2 separate regions of the Homo sapiens genome follow, and region 1 is linked to region 2. The links are contacts of gene promoters, found by promoter capture Hi-C in human tissues and cell types (Jung and others, 2019). All regions are on one chromosome and are shown on one strand. The core of a region is centred on a gene start or on the middle of the fragment in contact, and the rest is flanking DNA. Distances in the headings are between cores, read along the strand shown.

What was found. Contacts are between HindIII fragments. The study calls those that stand out against the background at their distance.
Region 1: a contact is called between a fragment that was not itself captured here and the fragment with the promoter of RSPRY1 in region 2, in 2 of the 25 tissues and cell types used here (lymphoblastoid cells and spleen).

Annotation. Positions count from the first base shown.
Region 1 is chr16:57,023,293-57,026,527 of GRCh38, reverse strand. NLRC5 (NLR family CARD domain containing 5) reads right to left here. Exons shown (of 49, transcript NM_001384950.1): 5 at 2,675-2,743; 6 at 1-1,160. Among named protein-coding and RNA genes, the nearest start is that of NLRC5, 35 kb to the right of the region's middle. RefSeq lists an enhancer at 1-77. The HindIII fragment of the contact is 7,248 bases long and covers 1-3,235 here.
Region 2 is chr16:57,184,969-57,188,187 of GRCh38, reverse strand. RSPRY1 (ring finger and SPRY domain containing 1) reads right to left here and starts at 1,859. Exons shown (of 15, transcript NM_133368.3): 1 at 1,737-1,859. PSME3IP1 (proteasome activator subunit 3 interacting protein 1) reads left to right here and starts at 2,149. Exons shown (of 7, transcript NM_024946.4): 1 at 2,149-2,367. RefSeq lists enhancers at 519-1,163, 2,475-2,524 and a silencer at 1,565-1,774. The HindIII fragment of the contact is 6,609 bases long and covers 1-3,219 here.

The sequences.
Region 1 (3,235 bases), core at 279-2,778, 160 kb after region 2:
GGCCATCAGGTGCAGGGCAGCAAGAAACTCCTGCAGGCTGAGGTGGGTGAAAGCATAGCCTGTCTGCTGGTGCCCAGGGCCTGTGCAGACGCAGAAGGAAGTCAGCAGGCTGTGAGTGGCCCCAAAAGCTATCAAGGGTGGAGCAATATCTTTTGCATAGAAGATAACCTTCCCTGTCTCCAGGCCCCTCAGGGCCACCTCCCCCAGGTCCAGTAGGGACGAGGTGGGCAAGTGCCCAGGGGGGCTGAGGGCGAGCACCATCTGCATATAGAGCTGAGTCATGTTGGGCAGGAGGGCCACAGACTGGCCTGGGGCGTGGTCAGGAAGCAGATGGTGGAGGCAGAGACAGGCGACTTGGCACAGTGCGGGCACCGCACACAGGCTTCGGAGACGTCCATTTGTCTGTAACTCCACCAGGGCCCCCTCCCGCGATGGCTGGGCGCTGAAGAAGTGATTCACATATTCTTCCACCCGTGGCCCATCAAAGCCCAACATGTGGACCATGGCTGCCTCTGCAGGCAGGCAGGCAGGCAGCTTCCCTGGACGGGAGGTAGCCATCACCCGGCAGCCAGGCAGGAGGGTCCCATTGCAGAGATGGGAGAAAAGGGTGAGGACTGGGCCTGGGCCATCAGGACCCATAGGCTGGAGGGCCTCATCTAGCCCATCAAAGATCAGCAGGACTTGGTCAGCGTTCTTCTCCAGGTACTGGAAGACAGTGTCGTGGTCCGATTCAGGGCTCAGGTACAGATCAAAAAGGAGCTCGGACGGTGTCAGGAACCTCGTGATCAAGTTGAGCTGGCGGAATTCAAAAAGGAACAGGGCCTGGAAACAGTTCAGATGGCCCTCTGCCCACTTCTGGCAGAGCCGGTGGGCCAGCGTGGTCTTGCCCATGCCAGCCTTCCCCAAAAGCACGGTCACCCTCGGGCCCTTGTTAACCCTGGTGTTGAAGAGGTCCGAGATGCTCACGTCAGCACCATCTTCCACCTTGACGTCCCCCATAATGGCCCCCTCCGGAGTGTCTAAGGATGCTGTGGCCCGGCGCAGGATTGGAGGGACATAGACCTGGTGGAAGGCGTGGGGCTGCCCTGACCCAGGGATTTGGCTCCTGTAGCGCTGCTGGGCAGAGGTCCGCAGGAGCTGCAGGTACTTCTTGGCCAACTCTGCAAGGGGCAGGGACATGGCATGAGGAGAGGACCCCCCGGCCCTCTGCTCATGTCTTCTTGCCCCAGTATTGGGCTGTTGGGAGCCTGTAGCCCCAGATGTGTATGTATGATGGGGTGAGGGTGGGGGTGTCAAGAGCACCATAGGGGGATCTGTGCCACCCCAACTTCCAGAAGGAATCAGTTCTAAGGGAGCATAGGCTCTCCGGTAGCTATTTAAACAGGCAGGTGGGAATGGGGAAGTGTGGGTCACGGTTCTATCCATTCTGCAATAGTACACGTGGTGTAAGGGTTCAGTAAGATGGGGGGAGGGGAATAGGGCACCTCCTTTGCAACATCTCTTTTTTTTCTTTTTTCCCAGAGACAGAGTCTCAGTCTTGCCCAGGCTCCAGTGCAGTGGCACGATCCTAGCTTACTGTAGCCGCAAACTCCTGGTCTCAAGTGATCCTCCTGCCTCAGCCTCCTGAGTAGCTGGGACTACAGGTGCACACCACCACACCCAGCTAATTTTTGTATTTTTAGTAGAGACAAGGTTTTGTCACGTTGGCCAGGCTAGTATTGAATTCCTGGGCTCAACTGATCCACCTGCCTCAGCCCTCCAAAGTGCTGGGATTACAGGTGTGAGCCACCGCGCCCAGCTACTTTGCAATATCTTATTGAAACAACCTCTTTCTGTAATATCTGGATCCCCAGTGCCTCTTCCCAATATTTCAGTTCTGCAATGCCCAGGGGTGAGCACTAACAACCTGTAGGCCTAGGCATTACCGATCGGAACTGTGGGAGCTGGGCCCCTACAGTGCCAGATGTTAACCTTTTAATTCCTGGGTCATTGAGAGGTCTCAGGTGACCCAGGGAAAGGGCTGGGGCTGCTTTTGGGGGAACCCTATGGGGAAAGGCCAAGGTAGTGAACTATTTTGAGCGGATGTGAATCCTCTGGTTATAGCCATGGTTGGCAGCAGTGGGGGCAGAGAAGGCTCTAGTTAGTGGGACAACTCGTGGAGAACGAGGACCATTCTGAGAACTGGTCAAGAATGAGAGAAGTCCCCTTTCTTCTCTCACTGGCCTGGCCTGCCCTAAGCAGCTCCATGTCTCCCCATGGGCCCCCAGGGCCTCTGTCTTGAAGGTTTCTCCCAGGCCTCCTCACCCCTCCCCATCCCTGCTCACCCCCAAACTGGTCTCCTCCCTGGGTCTCCTTCAACACTGAGGACATAGGGTGTCCCTGGAAAAGCCTGGACAGCGAAGCTGAGACCTGTATGGTGCTTCCAGCTCCTTCAGCGGAGCCCTCTTCAGAGAAGTCCCCATGCAGCCAGATGGGTGGGGAGCCCCTTCGCTGCCAGCCCAGGCCTCTCCTCTGCCTGTGCAAGACCTCCAGTCCTTTTCTCCTGGAAACTTGCGAGACAAGAGTCACTGGGCCTCTGGAGGCTTATTGGCAGGGGACAAGGTCCAGGGTCCGGGTCTTGGCCCCCAGGCAACCCCATCTCTCTGTTTATGTTCCTCCCCACACTGGTACCCACCTAGCTGCTGCTTCTTGCACTGCTTCCGGCGGGGTGAGGACCCACAGCTCTGATGTGGGCGCTTCAGGCCTGAAAAAGCAAAGGAAGGGGTGGAGGAGTGGGGTCTGGGGATCTGGGCTGAGGGGTTACCCAGAACCTTTGGGGAACTCCAGTCCACAGACAGGTGGCAGGCAGCCAAGTACACCCACATGCAGGGACTGGAAAGGCAGGCAGCAGGCAGAGGCTGGGTCAACACCAGCTTCTATTTGCAGAGTGGACTTCTAGGCACCCCCATTGGAAGGTGGATGTTCTGGGCCTGGCAGTCTTGCAGTCCAGGATGCAGGAAGCAGGGCCAACAGCCAGCAGCCCCCAGAAACACTCAGCTCCAAGCACTAAATGGCCATCTGTCCATCAGGGAAGGACCAAGCTCTATGGAAGCCGCCGGTGGTCATATAAGTGAAGTTCCCAGTGAGTTTGGCCAGGCCTGCAACCTCCCTCCTCTGTTAGGGTTTTATCATCCCGATTTCTTATCACCCACATTTCCTCACTTCCCTTAATAGTTTCTGGAGTCTTGTCTCATTG
Region 2 (3,219 bases), core at 610-3,109:
AAAAATAAAGAGAACCACTGTGCAAGAGAAATTTAAAAGCAACTTCCAACATGCCTCATAATCTATAGTCTAGGGCTACCACAACAACGCATAGTATTCGTGGAGGAAAAAAGGCAGTCTTTACAAATCACAACTGAGGGAGAAAGTATGATATTCACTGCCTGTAGACATCCAAAAGCCATGCATATATATATGCAAAAGGGGGAGGAGGTTTACAATGTTGAGATCAAATTACTTAGAGGAAAATTTCAGCTGTTAGGGGAAAATAATTCCTGAAGGAAAAGATATTACAGTGGTAACTCCTGCCAGCACCATAAGAAGTTCAAAGTAAATGAAAACTCTGAGAGCAAAAGCTGGAAATCCCACCATCCCCATCTAAGCAGGGTTTGAAACCATGGGTTTAGATCTTAATATGACCTAAGAAGCTGTGAACCTTGAAGCTTTCAGTACAATATGGCTCCCAGCACTCCGCAGGTGACAGACAACGACTGTATTAATCCCACCCCTTACCTCTACATACTACTTTACATTTTAGAAAGTGCCTTCACTTTTATTCCTCAACAGCAACCCGTTTGGTGGTAGAATCACACTAACTTACGTTCACGCAGCTTGTAATTTGTACTTTCACATACTGCGCTGGTTATTTTACAGTAGAGACTTAAGGAGGTTAAGTCACTCCACTAAGCAAGAACAGATGGTAGGTAAAGGGCCTGGAAAACTGCGGGATTCTACTCAGTCGATAACAGACACTTCTAACCCTTCAAAGTTCAAAGTACAACACTCCAGGGGGAGCAACCTCTCTCAGAGAACTATACAAGACAGGACCTCGGAGTCTCAGCCGACCGCCTCGGTCTCAGTCGGTTTCCCTCCCCAAAGACGGGGAAAGTGAGGCAGCAGGAGAGACAAATGCCTAATTTGGACTCACGCAAGGGGTGTTGGTGGGATAGACTCTCCCCACCCCACTCGGGCAATAAGCCCGGAAGCAGTTGGATCCTGTGTCTGGGACACCTGGTCGATCTACAGAGAGAGGGAATAATTCCCGTTTCCCTTTCACTACTCCCCACTCTGGCTTTCCTGTGGATGGAGGTGTCTTCTTCCCATCACCGCCCAGAAATCCCCTCTCCCCAAGGTCCTTACCCAATTTTCAGCTCCGGCTTCCGTAGTAGGACATTCCGCTAGTTCTAGCTCCTGCTTCCTAGCCCCATTCTCTCTCTATCCCAAGGCGTTTCTAAATCTCCCCGGGGAGGTATGCCTCATCCGTGCCACCTAGACCGTAAACTCCACAAAAAGAACCCTCCTAAAGCGTCCCTTCATCTACCCTTTCTATCCCGGGCACCCCTGAGTAGGTCAGGACCCCATCGGTACCAGGAGCCACCCCAGGAGATAGATAGCTGCCTCTCACCTGGGCCCTGTTAGCCGCAGCCTCCTCAGAAGGGCGACCCCCAAGAACCTCTTCTGGTGAGGACCCCCGAAAGAGGGAACACCCTCTTCTAGGAACCTCTTCAGATCCCTCAAGCGCGGGCCTCGGTGGAAAACCTCTCGGCTGTTTCTCAGGTTCTGACCAACGCCACCTCTCTCCCGGGCCCTTTCCAGAGCCTACCCCGGCCCCAGTCCGGTCCGCCCGCCCCAGGCTCGAGCGGCTGTTCCCCTCCCTCACAGACGTCCCCAACCCTCAGACTCCCTCCCGTTCCGCGTGCCCAGGGCTCAGAGCAGCGCGGTCGGGCTGTGGCACTGACTTTCTCTACCTCCCGGGCCCACCGGAGGGAGGGGGCGGCGGCGGCGGCGCGACTCCTTTGTGACAGGTCCGAGAGAACGGCAAAGATGGACGCGAGGCCACGGCGCTGCCATTACGCGCAGAGCCCACCCCCGCTTCGTACCGCCCCAGCCCTCCCTCAGTCCCCTAGGAAACGCCCCTTCCTCGGTGGCAAGCCCTCTCCTTGACAGCCAATCACCTTTCAAAAATCGTGTCACGTGATCAGCGGGACCGGCCCGCCCTCCAGGCGCAGACTGGCCAGTCCTCATCCTGAGGCGTGAATGGCCCAATCAAGTCTCTCCGGCTCGTTTTCAGGGTACCGGATTTCCATCGGGCTCCCGGGGAGGAAGAGCTCCGCGGATTGGGTTACGTCGCCGGAAGTGGGGCGGGACTCTATTGTGGCGGTGAGGAACAGGAAGCCCTGAAGGGTCAAAAGAAATACAAAAGCAAAGGCTATTTTCTTTTTTTTTTTCTTTCTTTCATTCATTCCTTCCTCTGTTTCTTTCTTTCTTCCTTTCATTTTTTTTTCTTTTTTAAGAGCGAGCGGCTCTGCGGTGGCGGTTTGGGGTGGGCGCCGCCGAGGTGAGGTCGTCTCGCCTCCCGCGCGCCGGTAGGTGAGTGCGGCCTCGGTCCTGGCCTGGCGGCGACACCTGGGTTCCAGCTTCCTTACGGAAGAGATGAGCTGCGGCTGCTGTTAGGGTTAGGGCCAGGCCTGTTCTCAGTCCGCGCACCCGCTCCTTGTCCGGAGTAGCCGAAGCCTGGGGCTTGCGGGCCCAGCCTGAGGGGAGCTGAGGGTGCCCGCGGGAAGGCATCTGGGTCGCGGCGAGGACCCTTTCAGGCGGGCCCAACACTGCCGGGCGTTTAATGGGGTTTCCCCAATTTTCTGCTAGGTAGGGCCACCCAGGTTTCAAGTGAGTAGCAGGCTCCGTTCCAGAGGTCTTGGAACAGGTCCAGGTTACTCACTCGGATGTGCGGCGTCTGGTTGGAAATGGTTGAATCCCAGAATGGCAGTGCAGGATGGGAAGCACATTTATTGTGTGCCATGTACCAGTTGCTGTGCCAAGCGAATTTTCTATTACGGAAAACAAGCCAGCTGGCCCGTTTTGCAGAAAACTTAAGAAACAAAGAGAGTTGAAGCGTCATGCTTGAGAGTTGGTGGTCCTTGTGACTGTCAGTCCACACAGAGGAAAGGGGGAGACCTGTTTGTTCGTAGTCGTGGTTCTTTAATGTTAGTGGAAAACAAGATCTCCTGGGGCCCTTTTAAAATGCAGTTTCTCAGACTCCCGCACGCTCGGGTAGCCCGACTGGTTAGTTCAGGAGTGGGACCCAAGAAGCCAGATGCGAGCCTGGTGATCGGAATTCCCGATGACCTCTTGCCTACCACCTGTGACATAAGATTTGTCGATTCATCAGTTATTTGGTGTATTCATGTGTCCACAGGGACACCATAAAATGGAAGGCACCCT